Linked DNA regions of Homo sapiens: all the other regions are linked to region 1. Evidence: promoter capture Hi-C in human tissues and cell types (Jung and others, 2019). All regions are on one chromosome and are shown on one strand. The core of a region is centred on a gene start or on the middle of the fragment in contact, and the rest is flanking DNA. Distances in the headings are between cores, read along the strand shown. Region 1 holds the start of NIPAL2 (NIPA like domain containing 2). Region 2 overlaps STK3 (serine/threonine kinase 3). Region 3 overlaps STK3 (serine/threonine kinase 3). Region 4 has its middle 20 kb from the start of KCNS2. Region 5 overlaps POP1 (POP1 ribonuclease P/MRP subunit).

Evidence for each region. The method cuts DNA at HindIII sites, captures the fragments that hold promoters and counts their contacts. A contact is called where the count stands out against the background at its distance.
Region 2: a fragment that was not itself captured here is called in contact with the fragment with the promoter of NIPAL2 in region 1 in 2 of the 25 tissues and cell types used here (IMR-90 fibroblasts and aorta).
Region 3: a fragment that was not itself captured here is called in contact with the fragment with the promoter of NIPAL2 in region 1 in 1 of the 25 tissues and cell types used here (thymus).
Region 4: a contact is called between a fragment that was not itself captured here and the fragment with the promoter of NIPAL2 in region 1, in 2 of the 25 tissues and cell types used here (H1 embryonic stem cells and mesendoderm cells).
Region 5: a fragment that was not itself captured here is called in contact with the fragment with the promoter of NIPAL2 in region 1 in 4 of the 25 tissues and cell types used here (H1 embryonic stem cells, dorsolateral prefrontal cortex, mesendoderm cells and 1 more).

The regions. Positions count from the first base shown.
Region 1 is chr8:98,292,985-98,296,370 of GRCh38, forward strand. It overlaps NIPAL2 (NIPA like domain containing 2), which reads right to left and starts at 1,251. Exons shown (of 11, transcript NM_001321635.2): 1 at 1,019-1,251. The coding sequence starts at 1,153. The region is part of intron 5 of LOC105375659 (a long non-coding RNA gene); the gene reads left to right. RefSeq lists a silencer at 771-1,490. The HindIII fragment of the contact is 9,267 bases long and covers 1-3,386 here.
Region 2 is chr8:98,492,003-98,495,388 of GRCh38, forward strand. All of the region lies in intron 10 of STK3 (serine/threonine kinase 3), which reads right to left. Among named protein-coding and RNA genes, the nearest start is that of KCNS2, 67 kb to the left of the region's middle. The HindIII fragment of the contact is 3,282 bases long and covers 163-3,386 here.
Region 3 is chr8:98,473,183-98,476,568 of GRCh38, forward strand. The region is part of intron 10 of STK3 (serine/threonine kinase 3); the gene reads right to left. Among named protein-coding and RNA genes, the nearest start is that of KCNS2, 48 kb to the left of the region's middle. The HindIII fragment of the contact is 3,817 bases long and covers 1-3,386 here.
Region 4 is chr8:98,444,842-98,448,227 of GRCh38, forward strand. It overlaps a transcript of STK3 not described here. Among named protein-coding and RNA genes, the nearest start is that of KCNS2, 20 kb to the left of the region's middle. The HindIII fragment of the contact is 4,082 bases long and covers 1-3,386 here.
Region 5 is chr8:98,156,201-98,159,586 of GRCh38, forward strand. POP1 (POP1 ribonuclease P/MRP subunit) reads left to right here. Exons shown (of 16, transcript NM_001145860.2): 15 at 1-212; 16 at 1,417-3,386. The coding sequence ends at 2,071. Among named protein-coding and RNA genes, the nearest start is that of NIPAL2-AS1, 19 kb to the right of the region's middle. The HindIII fragment of the contact is 5,544 bases long and covers 1-3,386 here.

The DNA of each region.
Region 1 (3,386 bases), core at 1-2,500:
CTTGAAAACTAATAAAGTGAACATGCTTATTTATCTTACTTATTCTTTATACAAATATATTCTCTTCTGCATTCAGAAATTAATATTTAGAACACTTCAGGCATAAAAGGAATCCAGATCTTTGATAATTGGTTAAACTCTCCGATTTAGGACAACAGCAACAAATATTTTCTGATTATATTGTTGCAAAAATAAAAGTATCCATGGTTTTGTTAAAGAACAAGAACAAAGTAACACATTTAATGAAAACAGGAGGAAGCCTGGAATCCACCGTGATAAAACTTAGTTGCAATATGAACGCTGCTAGAGGAAGGGCTGGCCAGAACACTTCCTCATCTTAAACCAAGCCAAAAATAAATGGGCGGCTCCAAGTCCCTTTGATTTTGTTAAATGTATATTTCCAGTGTAAACTGGCGTTGTTTAAGTTAACAAAGTTTTCCCAAAGGGCCGGTGGGAAAGAATGAGAGTCCTGCAAATGCAACCTGAGAAAATGTGTTCCTCGCACGGAAATGGAAGAGCTGTGTTGAGATACCAGGGACACACGCAGGGCATCTGCGCGAGGTGACATTAGGCTGCCCTTAATGAGTTTTCTGCTTCTGATAACAGGGTGTCACTTTTTTCTTTTCTTTTAACTGTAAAAGGATCCTGGGGTGAAAATGAGTGAATTGCCCCCACACTCCTAGATTCCTTCCGGGAGAAGAGGGCGGACGCAGGCTGGGGAGGCGGGATCGGGACCCGGAGGTCCCAGGAACGGGTGGCTGAGGTCAAGGCCGAAGACCTGGGCGCCCACTCCCAGTGCCGGGTGCCCGGGAGAGGAAGACTGGGCGGACCCCCGCGCTTCCGGATGAGGCGGACTTAGGTCAATGCGGGAAACATTGCATGTCACCTCTTCCCACTCGGAGAGGCCGGGTGTCTTCCTGAGAGCTGGCAGGAAAGCGGCCGAGGCGCAGAGGCGCCCGGAGCCAGCCGCCCTGGCCGCGTCCCCACCGGGCTGCGGTGGCTGCGGGGCGGCCCTTACCTGGTTCCTGCGGTACCAGTCGCCCGAGAGGGAGCCGTTGCCGGCGCCTGGTGCCCCGTACGTGAAATTCAGTGACAGCTCGTCCAGGGCGGCCGAGGCGGAGTCCCCGGGGCCCGCGGGCGCCACCGCTGCCATGAGGTCTCGCTCCCGGCGCTCGGGCTCCGGCTCGGGCTGCGGCCGCCTCCCCGCCCTGTTGCACCGCGAGGAGGCCGCGCCGCAGCCACTTCCTGCTCGGTGCCCGGGCGAGGCGGGCGCGCCGAGGCCACCTGGCTCCCGCCCCCGCGCGGCCGTAGGTGCTCCCAGCCTGGCCGGGCGCTGCCTCCTCTCCTCCTCCGGTGCGAGGTGTCCTCGGGGAGCCCGGCGGTCTGCGGCCTCCCGGGGCCGTCCAGCTCGCACCGCGCCCTCCTTCCGCTGGGCCAGTGTCTGCATCCTCGGGGCCGCACTGCCCAAGGGGGCAATCCCCGCGGCCGTCCGCAACGGGTCCCCGCGCCTGTCGGGGCCAGAATCAGATCATCTCCGTTGTAAACATTTGTCCAAGTCAATGGAAGAGGAGGAGACACTGACTAACCCAAAGCAGCTATCATCTCCCATCTCTACCTGGCAATTCCAGTCCTCTATCACATATGTAGTGTTTCTCACCGATATTTTAAAAATTGATTGCATATGAAAAAGTCATGAGTTCCCAGAAATATTGTAAGCAATATGAGAAAAAAAGATCCGAGCGATTGAATCTCAGTGCCAGTGCTTGATAGATCCTTAGTAAATATTCCTTGAATGAGGAATGTGGTAGCCATAGGACCCCAGTGTGCGATGACTGGATTGGGTTTGCTTCAGATGGGATCAGGTGGAGTTGCTGAAAAGTTGCCAGCTACTGTATATATGAATTTAGGATGAAAGATAAATGTTGTTATTAATCTTAAGAACTCTAACGAGATGTTCTGGTTTTACCTGTATTCAAATTCTAATGTGTGACCACAAATGATCTGTAGGGTATTTCTCACTTTAAAAAAACCATGATTCTATACTGTTGCCTGAAGGCTGATAGTTGCCTTCTTTTGTTTACACAATGCTGAGGTTTTTCTTAGATAATGTGCTTTGACTTCCATGAGTTCATGAAAGAGAGACCTTCAAGAAAAGAGAATTGCTGCCTAGAAGGGAGCAGGGACAGTTTTCAGTGTTTCTTAGGGGAAATGTGCAAATGAGAGAAAAGAGTGAGAAAAAGTCATTTCACATACAGAAAAAACAAGACATGTCGTCTCAGAAATTGTGTAGTTTCTTGCTTAAGCACTCGAGATGTTCAGTGAACAGCTAACAATTGTAGGTAACTATTCCCAATTTTAAGAGGCTGATTTACTTCAAATAAATATCTGAAGGAAAAAGGTCTCTATTTGTTATATTACATTTTATTTTATTTTTTGAGACAGGGTCTTGCTCTGTTGCCCAGGCTGGAGTGCAGTGGTGTGATCTTGACTCACTTTAGCCTCATATTCCTGGGCCCAAGTGATCCTCCCACCTGGGACTACATACAGGTGCATGCCACCATGCCCAGCTAATTTTTTTTTTTTTTAGATAGAGTCTCTCTCTCTTGCCCAGGCTGCAGTGCAGTGGCACAATCTCAGCTCACTGCAACCTCTGCCTCCTGGGTTCAAACAATGCTCCTGCCTCAGCCTCCTGAGTAGCTGGGACTACACGTGCACACCACCAAGCCCGGCTAATTTTTGTATTTTTAGTAGAGACAGGGTTTCACGGTGTTGGTCAGGCTGGCCTCAAGCTCCTAACCTCCAGTGATCCCCCTGTCTTGGCCTCCCAAAGTGCTGGGATTACAGGTGTGAGCCACCACACCTGGCCCTGGCTAATATTTTTCTATTTTTTTGTAGGGACAGGGTCTCGCAATTTTTCCTAGGCTGGTCTAGAACTCCTGGCCTCAAACAGTTGTCCCACCTCGGCCTCCCAAAGTGGTGGGATTACAGGTGTGAGCTGCCATGCCTTGTCTGATAAGTTTTCTATAACATCACATTCATTGATATTGGTGACTTCATTAATGCTTCTTTCTCTTCACATGCTTTAGGGTGCAAGTAACAGAGTATCCAAATAAAAGTGGCTTAAACAATAATTATCTGCTATCTCCAGAGGAATGTGTCTCTATGTGGTTCTATTATGTCGTCACTTCCACCTTTCTGCTCTGCTATCCCTGAGGTACTGGTCTTGTCCATTGAGGGAGGAAAGCCTTTTCCAGAATCCTCCTGGCATCCTTTCACCTCAGATCCCATTGGCTGGGACTGGGTCACATGCCCATGTTCTACCAGCAAGGGAGGCTGGGAAAGTGATTCTTGGGTATTTCCAACCTAGTGAGAGGTAAGCTCTACCA
Region 2 (3,386 bases), core at 554-3,053, 200 kb after region 1:
GAACTACTAATAAAAGGAATGTAAATTACTGGCTAAGACAGAAACATCATATTTTAGAAGACTAAGCCATGATTTTGGTGAAATCAGTACATCATTCGTTTGTTATTATTAAATTTTCATAAAGCATCTCCAAAAAGCTCAATGACACACACTAATAATTGTTAAATAATGCAAATGAATACTTCTAAATTCTCCAGTACTGTAAATTAGCAGACAGTGTGGGAGTTGCAGAGAACAATGAGAGAGAGAAGTAAAAACAAAGCAAGCAGTAATATGATATCTTAAATTAAGTTGCAATTTCTGATTTACTCCAAAAGGATCTTTCTGGGCAGGCAGGATTTAAAGAGTTTTAAGAAATGATGTCTTTCTGCCTGTCAGGAGTGTGTTAGAAGTATATTTAATTCTGTGAAGTTGGAATAGGAAAGAGAACATGGGGGAGAACTAAGTTAATCTAGAAGAGGTGTGAAATTGGAGAAAGGCCTAAAAATCAAATGCAAATATGCTGAAGATAGTAATAATTTTAAAAAGGAAATAGTTTAAAGAAAGGGAACAACATTCAGTGTGGTAAAGAAGTGGTATTAAAAATAGTGTTTTGTATTTTTTTTTGGCAGGAATGGAATGGATTTTATGGTTAGATAAATCAAGAAGACCTACAATGGCAGTTAAGATTTGAAATTGCTAGATATTTGGCAAGAGAACTGATAAAAAGAGAGGGGAGTAATTATCAGGTGTCACCCACACCCTGAAGGCTGCACCCACTCTTATCCTCTAATTCCTTTGACCCAGAGTAACACTTCTCCCTCTTCCTGTCCAGATGTGGTTTCTCTACTAGTGCTCTAGGTCCCATCCCCTCCTCTTTCCTTAGGAACTTCATTCCATTGACTATCTTCAGTCAATCCTCCAATTCCTGCCATTAGCTCTTTCAGCATATAAAAATCATCAAGTATGCCAGGCATGGTGGCTCACACCTGTAATCCCAGCACTTTGGGAGGCCAAGGCGGGAGGATTGCCTGAGCCCAGGAGTTTGAGACCGGCCTGGGTAACATAGTGAGACCCAACTCTACATTTTTTTTTTTTTAATTTGCCAGGCATGGTAGTGTGCACCTGTAGTCCCAGCTACTTGGGAGGATGAGGCAGGAGAATTGCTTGAGCCCAGGAGGTCGAAGCTGCAGTGAACTGTGTCTGTGCCACTGCATTTCCATCCTGGGCAATAGAGCAAGACCCTGTCTCAAAAAAAAAAAAAAAAATCATCAAGCGTTTCATATCTAAAAGCAATATAAAATAAAATAAAAAGTTTCTTTAATCTTATGTTCTCCTTTAACTATTATATCTCTTCTTTTCACAAGCAACTTCTAGGAAGAAGTCTACTTCTTCCCTCCTTGATTCACTTCCCGCTCTGAAGCAGTCTGGCTTTAGGCGTCACCATCTCATGGAGGCTGCTTCACTTAAAAGCAACATTGATCTCCTTAACACCTTATCCAATCTTCGGGTTTTAGCTCTCCTATGATTCGATCTTGCTGAAGCTTTTTACACATTCATTTCCTCTTTCTTGAAATGTTCTCCTCCCTCAGTATCTAAGATGTCACATTCCTTTCTCTGTTGTTGCTCCACAGGGACCCATCTCAGTCTAATATTATTCTCCCTCTATACTGATGACTTGAACTATACCAATTAAAAGATGACTCACAATCCAGAAATCTCTAGCCCAGATCTCTGTGGAACTCCAATTCTGGTTATGTCTAAGAAGCATCTCTTTCTGAATGTCTGATGGTACTTATATAACCAAAATGAATTCATCATATTCCACCTTAAAAAGTCACTATTCCTTAAATTGAATGGATCCACCAACCCCTCTTCTCTCCTTCACCTAGTTATTCAGGTAATCTGGGACTTATCTGAGATCTTCCTTTTCTCTTACTTCCCAGATCTAATCACTAAGGACTAGAGATTCTCTCAAAACTGTCCCCTAATATCAATTTCATTGCTTTTGTTCATTTCTCATTTGGACTATGTCATATTGCAACAATCCCCTTAATGATTTCTCTACTTCCAATCTCAATTTTTTGCAATTCTGTTTCAAGAGGTCAGCTTGCTGTAATTTTTCAATGGCTTTCAGTTATCCATAAGCCCAACTCCCAACCTCCTTGTAAGGTATAAACGCTGCTGCCTACTCTCCAGCCTCATTTCTACCACTTTCCAACTCAATTTCATGCTCTAGCAACACTGAACATGCTTTCTTATGGCTAGTCCTTCTGTAAATACTGCAGCACCATTTTTTCCACTTGTCTATCTGGTACATTCTTACTCATTCTTAGGTATCTGTTTAAATGCTAACTTCTCTAACAGCATCCCTTTTCTCTCAGGTGAACTTTGGTGTTCCTTATATATTCCTAACTGTAGTTTTGAAGACTCTTCCATTAAACAATGATCTTATTGCATTATAATTGTTTGCATGGGCATCTTAACTTCTTAACTGGCTTAGATTAGGGAATTAAAATAGACATTGGCTGGGCACAGTGGCTCACACCTGTAATCCCAGCACTTTGGGAGGCTAAGGTGGGTGGATCACTTAAGACCAGGAGTTCAAGGCTGCAGTGAGCTATAATGGTGCCACTGCACACTAGTCTAGGTGACAGAGTGAGACCCTGTCTCAAAAAAAAAAAAAAAAAAAAAAAAAAGAGAGAGAGAGATTATGAAAACATTTACTGGGAGACCTAACCCATTTTTTGCTTCAGGAAACCAATCTTAAACAGTGCCAAGAAAGGCAAGCCAAAGACAGTGGATGAAGACAGTGGTGGTGATGCTGGAAAAGCCCAGGCAAACTGAAGCACAGCTACTGTGGAAGAGAGAACAGCAGGAAAAAACTGGAGAGACACCAGGAGCCCAACTGTGAAGGGACTGCTAAGAGAAGGTTCAGCTTTGTGCTTCCAGTCACTGATTCAAACTTTCTTCATGAATCCAACCACTAAATTAAACACCAGCTTTCTAAAAGCTGCACATTCTCATACTATAAAAGAAAATATATTTCAAATAAAATACTTTCCAGGCTTTCCAGAAGAAAAAATCCATCCCATGTCACCCACTGTGACTAAGCACGGAGGAAACAGATTAAATTAGGGATATTTTGCCCGTACATCTCCAGGCTGCATGAAATGAAAACAAATGAGAGTCAGGACTCTCAAAAGTTTCACAGTTCTAACCATCAACGCAATGTGCCAAGCAACATAGTAAATGTTCACGTTTCAAACAGGAGGAATACATTTTACCTTTTCTATCTGGGATAGAAGATTAGATTCTAATCTTTTTTGGTTTTCCACTCAGATGAGCACCTTAAGTGGGATCATATTTCTATATTACAGGTACTTTTTTTTTTCCTGAAAGTCTGT
Region 3 (3,386 bases), core at 474-2,973, 180 kb after region 1:
TTCTTTCTGAATATAAGCAATGCCATTTACAAACATTCCTGCTGCACCCATCTTCTACACCCCCTGTTGTAATGAATTCGCATACCTGCCTCCGATTACAGGCTGGATTGCCCCAAAGTAGTCTTCTCAGAAACCTATCTACACAGTTAGCTTCTTTCTCTTGTGCATCTTCAAACTCTCTTTGTCTTTAGCATCAACATGATATACTTTCTGATATTTCCCATCTTAAACTTTTATTGTTTTTTCTTATCTCAAGAAAACCCTGCCTTGACTCACGGCCATTCCTCCAGTTGTCACAATTCCATCCCTCTTCTCCTTTAGAAAGTCAAACTTCTCAAAGTATGGAGAAAACAATAACCATATTTTAAATTGGCAATCAAACTTCAACTTGCTCCATACTGGCTTCTGATCCCCTAATGCTCTCCAAATTCCTCTTGTTAGGTCGCCAAAGTTAAATGAATTCTTTTTAGTTTCTATCTTATTTGGCCCCTCCAGCTGTACTTGATACTTTGTCCACACCTTTCCTTCTTGAAACCTCCCTCTCTTGGCTCCTACAACACCATGCTCTCTTTTCTCCTAAATTTATGGCCATTTCTCAATCTCCTTTATTGGCTTCTTCTCAACTACTAAATGTTAGAACTACTCAGGACTCTGGGCTTTTACTATATACTCCATTTCCTAGGCAGTCTCATACATGCCCTGGGCTTTAAATACCATCTATCTGATAGTATCTCTAATATAGATCTGTCTTCTGAGTTCCAGAACTTAGCAATTCTATTAGATGTCTCCTGGGTATTGCAATACTCAGTAAGTTCATATCTGACAGAGACCTTCTAAACTGTTTATCTTTTAACCTTTCCTATTTCACTAAATGGCTCTTCCACCATCCAACTAGTTGCAAATGCTAAGAACCTACCATATTCAAATGTTGCCATGCCTTGTGGTGTTCATACTACTTACCAAGATATGTCAAATCGATGTCCTCCTCTTCATCTGCTGTCATCTCCCCAGTCAAAGCCCTCTTATCTTGAGCACACTGTTTCAATAGCTTCCTAACTAGTTTCCTTCTATCTTTGCTCCCCTCCAATTCACTCTCCATACAGCAGCCAGAATTATTGTTTAAAAATGTATACTGGGTCATGTCCTGCCCCTAAGATACGGAAATGGCTCTTTCTTGCATATGAAATCCAAATGCGGCCTTGCCTGAATCTAATCCTGCCTAGGTCTGCAGCTTCAGCTTGTGCTACTCTAGCCATTACTCCTATGTTTCCATCATGACTGATTCTCTTTCAGTTTCTCAGATTCACCAAGCTCTTTGCATGTGAATTGGGAGTAAAATCGTCCAAAAATTAAGAGGTTAGGATTAAATGATTACATGCCTTTCCTTTGCTTAGAATGTTGTTCCACACTCCCCACTTTGGCTTCAAGACTTTGTTAACACAGTTCTGTCTACTGAGAGTGTCCTTTCCCTCATCTCTGCCTGATGAAGTTCTATTCATCTTTAGGACTGATCTTAAATGTCATCTTCATAAAGTCTTCCTGGTCAAATTTTCCCTGTAAGCATACTGAGTTACTTTTTTCTCCATATACCTAAAGATAATTTTGCATATGTCTCTGTTATAACATTTATCACCGTACTGCAATCATTTTTTAAATTTCTGCCACATTAGAACTGTACAATATGAGATACGTGAATATAGGACTGGGCCTTCTTTAGATCCCCAAATTTAGCAGGTGCCTAACATCATCCAATCTGTCACCCATTAATATTGCTTTAAGAATAAGAGCCATCTTACATGGCAACAACCACTAGTGAAGATTGTATTTATTAACTTGTTAGTGTTTGTCATCACGGTGACATACACATATTCAGAAAAATGAGTCAATATTAATAATTAAAGACGTTACTGTGATGAAGTTTCCTGAAATCTGAGCTCATCTGTATACCCATATCCAATGACTTGAATGTCTCAATCAATTCATTGGCTAGCACAATTCTCAAGCCTTATTAGGGACCATAATTTCTATGGTTGACATCTTAATGCTGAGTAGGAGCCGGAAGCTTTGTGGACTCTCAGGTTCATGCACCTGAAAGTCCTGTGCTTAAGTGTGTGCATGATCTTGCTCAGAAGCACCAAGAACAGGGGTGAGAAGAGAGAATGTAGAACATCCATTGTTATACAAGAGGCAGTGACAACAGAGATGGCCTATTTAACTTACTTCAAAAGCCTTTAATTCTCAAGCACCAGGAAAACAATTTTAGAGCTGACTACAATAGATCTTTTGCTAGACTGTTCTGAAGACTAGTTTTTTAGAAAGTAAAACCATATTACCAGAATATTAATCCACAATAAGGTTGAATACAATTTGTTAAAGAACAGACTCCATGTACTATTACAAAAATGAGGTCTGACCTGAAACACCATCCATTTGAAATATTTAAAAATAAAAATAGACAACTCTCTTAAGGAGGTTTTTTAAAGCATCATCTGATATCTACGCTATGATAAAAGTCAGCATCAAGTTTAAAGAAGTGAAACAAAACACTGTCACCATGCCCCTATGAGCTAAAACTTTGAGAATTATAAATGGCGGATTTAACAATGATAACCTTTCCATTCTTTTGCCAGACGCGAAACAAATTATGCTAGTTCCTCCTCTAGAATTTCTTGCTTTTTCTGCCTATGACCTTCTCAGCTCACCCACAAGCAGCACCATTCATTGACTGAACTGTTATTTGACAGTTTGTCATAATCAAATACGGTAAGCAGAGTATCACGATGTTCTAGTTCACTTTAAAGCAAACTATTTAGGACTATAAATTCCATCTAGGCCTTAGATACACTTCAAGGCAAAGGTAGGGATACTGGGCAGAGAAAACACCAAGATTTGACTTTTACTCCAACATGTACCTAAGTGTAGACTGGAAGTTTGTATTCAAAACATTGGGGGAGAAAAGTTTAATGTTACCTGTGTATTCAACATATAATATCCTCTGTTTTATCCAGATAATTCATCAAAATCAGAGGCATGCAAGGAAGGTGAGAATCAGGCTGTGATTTGCTTACAGATATGAAATCTTGGGAGCAACTCAGTCCAGTGAAGAGACTTTTATTGCCCCACAAACTCTAATATTGGGCAGACTTGGGTTTTTACTGGTTAGGTGATGAAAAGTCCAAGGTAATTATCAGGACTAATTAGAATTACAAAGGACACTGACACGGGGTCACTGTAATAAAGTTATACTTTATATTTACCAGCAGTCTTAGACGGCTATGGGTAAATGTTCTGGCTCTGCGGCCCCCTGAAAAGCAGGATTTTCATTCCAACAGAAAAAGGAAAAAAACTGATTCCAGGTGGAACCAATGTTGCTTCCCCACCCTTTT
Region 4 (3,386 bases), core at 440-2,939, 150 kb after region 1:
AAAACATCACAAAAGATGGGCCTGCAGGAGTTACCCCTGTGTTTACTCTGAGAATAGTGATAATTGAATATTGCTGTTGAATTCAATTTTGATGGCATGCTTCCCTATGGGTGCCATTAGAGAGACACTTCTTATCTTGGTACTAAGAATAGTTGGCTTTCTTCTGAGCAACAGAGTATACTTTTATCTTTTGTTTTCTGTAGTTCAAAAACTTTTATTTTTATGATTATAATATAGCTTAATACAATGTATTCATTTTTTAAAGCGTACAGTTCCACGGTTTTTAATATATTCAGAGTTCTGCAACCATCACATAATCAATTTTAGAACAATTTCATCACCTCCCCCAAAAATCCTGTCCCCATTATTTTATTCCTTTTTATTGCTAAATCATATTCCCCAGAATGGATATACATTTCATTTATCCATTCATCAGCTGATGGATGCGTTTAGCTAATAGACTGTCACTGTCAAATAGAAATGTCACGCAAACTACAAATGTGAGCTACATATATAATTTTATATTTTCTAGTAGCCACATTTTTTAAAAGTAAAAGAAAAACAGATGAAATTAATTTTAATAATATATTTCCACCAAACATATCCAAAATATTATTATTTCAACACATAATAAATATAAAAGATTATTGAGATATTTTACTTTTTTTGTATTTTTTTGTATTTTCACAGTAAAATATCGTATGTCATATCTTTTCTCATTTGTTCTTAATTTAGCTATTTTATTATGTTTTATGCATCCTTCTTTGTAAATTGCCTTAATTAAAAATGGAAAATGCTGATGGCCTCAAGAAGAAAACTGCTGACAAAAAGAAGATAAGCTTTTCACTCGGAGCATGCAGATAGTGAACTGATTTGAGGAACTGAATATAAACCTGTCTCCTCAGAAGCTGTTGCCAACTCTCTACCTACCTCTCTCTGCCCCTTTTTCCCCAACACCTAACCTCAGCAAGCCTCTGCAGACATCACTATTTCTAGATATTTATTAAACAGTAGAATTGAGTACAGCCGAGTGTGACCAGTATCTAAAGGCACCAGAAAATAGGCTAGCTCCAACTGGTGTTAATTTATCTGGAAAACATTCAGTGATTTGGGAAAACAAAAACAAAAACAGACCACATGATTCCATGACCTCTCCTAAACTGCAGGGCAGAGAGAGTAAGCAAGACAAACTACCCTCACTGCTTTAATTGTGTAATGAACTTTCTCAGACACCGAAAGGTATGCTAGACATTCTTTCTCATCTCTGTCTTTATATATGCTTTGCCCTCCTCAAAGTGCCTTTCTCCCTTTCCTGCCTTACATGCCTCAAGACTCAGTTCAAATATCTCATTAGTGAAGACTTCCTCTATTCCTACTCCTGCAGGGCTTTGTTTACATCTTTCTTATTGCAATGACCACACGTGGGTGTCCATGCCTGTACCAGGCTATAAGCACCAGCTCTTGGGTAGGAACAAAGCTGCCTTTATTTCTGTATTTCACACTTAGCTTAGACACTGGCACACAGTTGGTGCTTAATAGATGCTTGTTGATGAGTAAAGAAAGTGCAAGTCATGGGTACTCATGGGTGCCAGGTAGTGTTTGAAGGGTTTTCTGTGCATCTCTCATTTACTTTTCATAACCCTCTGAGGTTGTCTCTGCTTGATAAAGAAGGTAAGACTTCTGATCATTAGAGAAATGCAAATCAAAACCACTGAGATACCATCTCACATCAGGCAGAATGGCTATTACTAAAAAGTCAAAAAATAACAGATGCTGGTGAGGTTGCGGAGAAAAGGGAATGCTTATATACTGTTGGTGAGAGTGTAAATTAGTTCAACCATTGTGGAAAGAGCTAAAAATAGAACTACTATTTGACCCAGCAATCCCATTACTGGGTTTATATGCAGAGGAATATAAATCATTCTACCATAAAGACATATGCACGCAAATGTTCATTGCTGCATCACTCACAATAGCAAGGACATGGATTCAACCTAAATGCCCACCAATGACAGACTGGACAAAGAAAATACAGTATATATACACCATAGAATACCATGCAGCCATAAAAAAGAATGAGATAATGTCTTTTGTGAGGACATGGATGGAGTTGGAAGCCATTATCGTTAGCAAACAAACACAGGAACAGAAAACCAAATACCACATGTTCTTGCTTATAAGGGGGAGCTGAATGATGAGAACACATGGACACATAGAGGCGAACAACACACACTGGCGCCTACTTCAGGGTGGAGGGTGGCAAGAGGGAGAGGAACACGAAAAATAACTATTGGGTACTAGGCTTAGTACCTGAATGATGAAATAATCTGTACAACAAACCCCCATGACATATGGATTTACCTATGTAACAAACCTTCACATGTGTCCCCAAACCTAAAATAGAAGGTTAAAAAAAGAAGGTGAGACTTATAAAAAGGATTAAGGAACTCACTCATGGCCATGCAGTAAGTTAGGCAGCAGAGCTTCAAAGATACCTACCTTTGAGGACTTCCAATCTGTAAAAGATATAATCTTTCTTATATTTTTATAACAACCTCAAGAACTAAGGAAATGAATTGACTTCTAATTGGACAGAGTAAGGATAGGCCTTTTCTGTCAGAAGAAATTGTTTTCTCTCAGGCAAGTTAGAAAAGAATACCACAGACAAATATTGCATGTATTTGTATATATCGTATTGCATATATACTATATATATATATAGTATCTATATATTGCAATACTATATATAGTATCTATATATTGCAATACTATATATAGTATCTATATATTGCAATACTATATATAGTATCTGTATATTGCAATACTATATATAGTATCTATATATTGCAATACTATATATAGTATCTATATATTGCAATACATTATGTTGCATGTATTTGTATATATTTGTAAAATATATACAATATTATATATATGTTTGCTATCATTGCTGTGGATGAATGTCAGGGAACTGAGCAAGGCACCAGGATTCATTGAACAAGATTAAAAAACTAGCAACCCATTAGATTACTCTGAAATTGAAATAATTTTACATTAAGAACTTTGTATGTAACTAACCTGCACATTGTGCACATGTACCCTAAAACTTAAAGTATAATAATAATAATAATAATAATAATAATAAAGCAATATAAACTGAAAAAAAAAAAGAACTTTAAAAACATTCTGCTTGGACTTTTTTGACTGCCTGACACATTCAAATTCAAATCAAACTCCAAATCACTACTTACTTGTTAAAGCAATTAATTTACTCTCAGAATCAAAAAGCTTTGCTGAAACTTTTAAAGGTCCATTTCATTCATTCATTACTATCAGGCTGTAATATCACATATAATTTTTAAAGATGACATGCTAAGCATGCAAAC
Region 5 (3,386 bases), core at 314-2,813, 140 kb before region 1:
GACCTAAGAAGATCTGAGGTGCCTTGTGCTCCCATGCCTAAAAAAACTCATCAGCCATCTGATGAAGTGGGCACATCCATAGAGCACCCCAGGGAGGCAGAGGAGGTAATGGATGCAGGGTGTCAAGAATCGGCAGGGCCTGAGAGGATCACAGACCAGGAGGCCAGTGAAAACCATGTTGCTGCCACAGGGAGTCACCTCTGCGTTCTCAGGTAAGTGTCGGTGACTTCTGGGTACATTTTGGATTATTTATTTTAATATTGAAGAGGCTACAGGATGTAAGCGTTATCACTGTTTGTTTATGCAAAATCCAAGTGAATTTATAGGCTTTCTGGAAGGGAAAGCCAGTCTTTTATATTTCATAGAGGGCTCAGGGAAACAGCTTAATAATATTTGATGTAAGGCATGATGCTAATTGATGAAATGATTTACAATATTGTCATCAATAGATCCAAGCCAAGGCAGTTTTTTTTCTGACATATTTTATGCAGTTTGAGCAAGGATTCTTTGCTTTAAATTACCAAATTAGATTTCTTCTAGTTCCTTTTGAATTATATGGATTTGTGTTAGAGCAGCAACCCATTAGATGTAATATAGTCCTAGCCAGAGAGGCTACCGGATACACTATGTTCTCCTCTCAGTATTGGTGTGGGCCAGGTTCTGCTCATCAGTGACCCTGCATTCTGTGCTTTGCTCTGATTTTTTTTTTTTTTTTTTTTGAGATGGAGTCTTGCTCTGTCACCCAGGCGGGAGTGCAGAGGTGTGATCTTGGCTCACTGCAACCTCGGCCTCCTGGGTTCAAGCGATTCTCCTGCCTCAGCCTCCCAAGTAGCTGGGACTACAGGTACATGCCACCACGCCTGGCTAATTTTCACCATGTTGGCCAGGCTGGTCTCGAACTCCTGACCTCAGGTGACCCGCCCACCTCAGCCTCCCAAAGTGCTAGGATTACAGGTGTGAGCCACTGCGCCCGGCCTGTGCTTTGATTTTTAAAAAGTGCTTATCCCTCTAGCCTTGTGCTTACTTTTCCGTATAGTAGCCTCATAATTTCCTATCATTCTTTCTTACTTTACATGTAACAGTCCCTTACAGTTCCTTTACTCATTGAAATCTTAGTGGCTCTTTATTTTCACCCTCACTGTGATTACAATCCTAGATTCTATCTCACTGTCTTGTTTTCCCTGCCTTCAACTTCTTAAATCTTTAGTCCCTGAGTTTCAGAATGGCAAACACATAAAAAGAAAAATATAAGTACTAAAATGTACTACAGTGTATTTCTAATTTTTAAAAAATTGTAGTTTTGATTCTTATATAGTATAAAAGAATCAAATTAATTCTAGCAGTGTCTAATCTTCTGATTGCATATTTTTTTCTGGAACAAAATATCCTCAAACGTATGTCTCCAACTTCATGTAGGAGTAGAAAATTACTGAAGCAACTGTCAGCCTGGTGTGGGCCCAGTTCTGAGGATAGTCGGGGAGGCCGGCGAGCTCCCGGCAGAGGCCAGCAAGGATTGACCAGAGAGGCTTGCCTGTCCATCTTGGGCCACTTCCCCAGGGCCCTGGTTTGGGTCAGCCTGTCCCTGCTCAGCAAGGGCAGCCCCGAGCCTCACACCATGATCTGTGTCCCAGCCAAGGAGGACTTCCTCCAGCTCCATGAGGACTGGCATTACTGTGGGCCCCAGGAATCCAAACACAGTGACCCATTCAGGAGCAAGATCCTGAAACAGAAAGAGAAGAAGAAAAGGGAGAAGAGGCAGAAGCCAGGACGTGCCTCTTCTGATGGCCCGGCGGGGGAAGAGCCCGTGGCTGGGCAGGAAGCTCTGACTCTAGGGCTGTGGTCAGGCCCTCTGCCGCGTGTGACGTTGCACTGCTCCAGAACTCTCCTAGGCTTTGTGACTCAGGGAGATTTTTCCATGGCTGTTGGCTGTGGAGAAGCCCTGGGGTTTGTTAGCTTGACAGGCTTGCTGGATATGCTGTCCAGCCAGCCTGCAGCGCAGAGGGGCTTAGTGCTACTGAGGCCTCCCGCCTCTCTGCAGTATCGATTTGCGAGGATTGCTATTGAGGTGTGAATGCGTGCTTGTATCCCAGCAGGGCATAGATAATACGTTATTATTGTCTGCCAAGTTCTACATGTGGAGAATCTGCTTCTGCTTTAAAATATCATGTGAAACTCCCTGGAAACAAGAATAAAAAATTATGTATTATGCAGATGATGAAATGTTTACATCATTCCAGTAATGTCATTGATTTTCATCTTTCCCTGTCCTTGCTGTAATACTTTTAAATTATTTGGCCAAAAGCTTTGTATTATGATCTCTTGGTCTGTGTAGTTGTGGCTGAAAATAATGAGAAGCTCTACGAGTTATCATCCCCTTTTTTTGTTAGAAACAAAGGGCTTGTCAGGTCTATTTGAAAAACCTCATAGTCATGTGATAAGCAACAATAGATGTTTAATGATTTCACTGTTATAGCAGAAGACAAGAGAAGACGCTTGGCCTCTGTACATGAAATATGGGCTCCTGATGGACCTCATTCAATTCTGTACTGTGATTTCCATGCCGAACAACTCAAGCCTTAAAGAGAGAAATCATGGACAACTGATTTCTGCCTGTTTTCAGGCAGGCACAGTTTATGGCGTCAGTGCTAGGCTGGAATTAGAAAGTGGGGGTCTATGACGTGGACTTCCTGACTCTTTGATCTCTTTGTTGTTGACCAACACTTGATCCTACTAGTTACTTAATTTTTTTAAGTAAAAAATTATTATTATTTTGTTTCTGCAAAGATTTTCTCAAAGCCATAGAGGAGCATTTCTCAGAATATGTTCTATGATATGTGTCACCTAAAAAAGTAAGAGATTCCAAGGTCAGGTTGATATGGAAACTCTAGGTTAAATAAAGTTAAGCATTTCTTTATGAAAGAACTTCTGGAAACTTCCATGTGATAATGTGCATTGCGGATCTCTAGGAAGGAAATGATAGTGTATAGTATTTTCTAAATACTTGTGATTCCTAAAGTTCTCTTACAAGGAGCCCTTTGTAGGACCAGTGTTCTTAGTAGCGCGCTTTGGGCAGTGTGGCTGTGTAGTGCATAGCTACCTCTGCAAGGTGATAACTAAGCCGGCAAGCTGCCTTTCAACACTCATGCAGTCACGTTGTCCACCTGAGATTCTCAACAGGGTATAAAAGGAAGGTCTCATCTTGCCTCACAGGAAGAGTGGGCTCAGTGTGGCTTTTTTCCAACTATGGAGAAACTCAGTGCTCATCTACTTTAAGTTTCCACATATGGCTTGCTCATAGCCTTGGTCCTTACCTTTCCTGCCATAACTTTCTAGAAGAGCTTAATGGGATTTTTTTTCTAAAAAATGTAAATATGCAGTTAGGCATT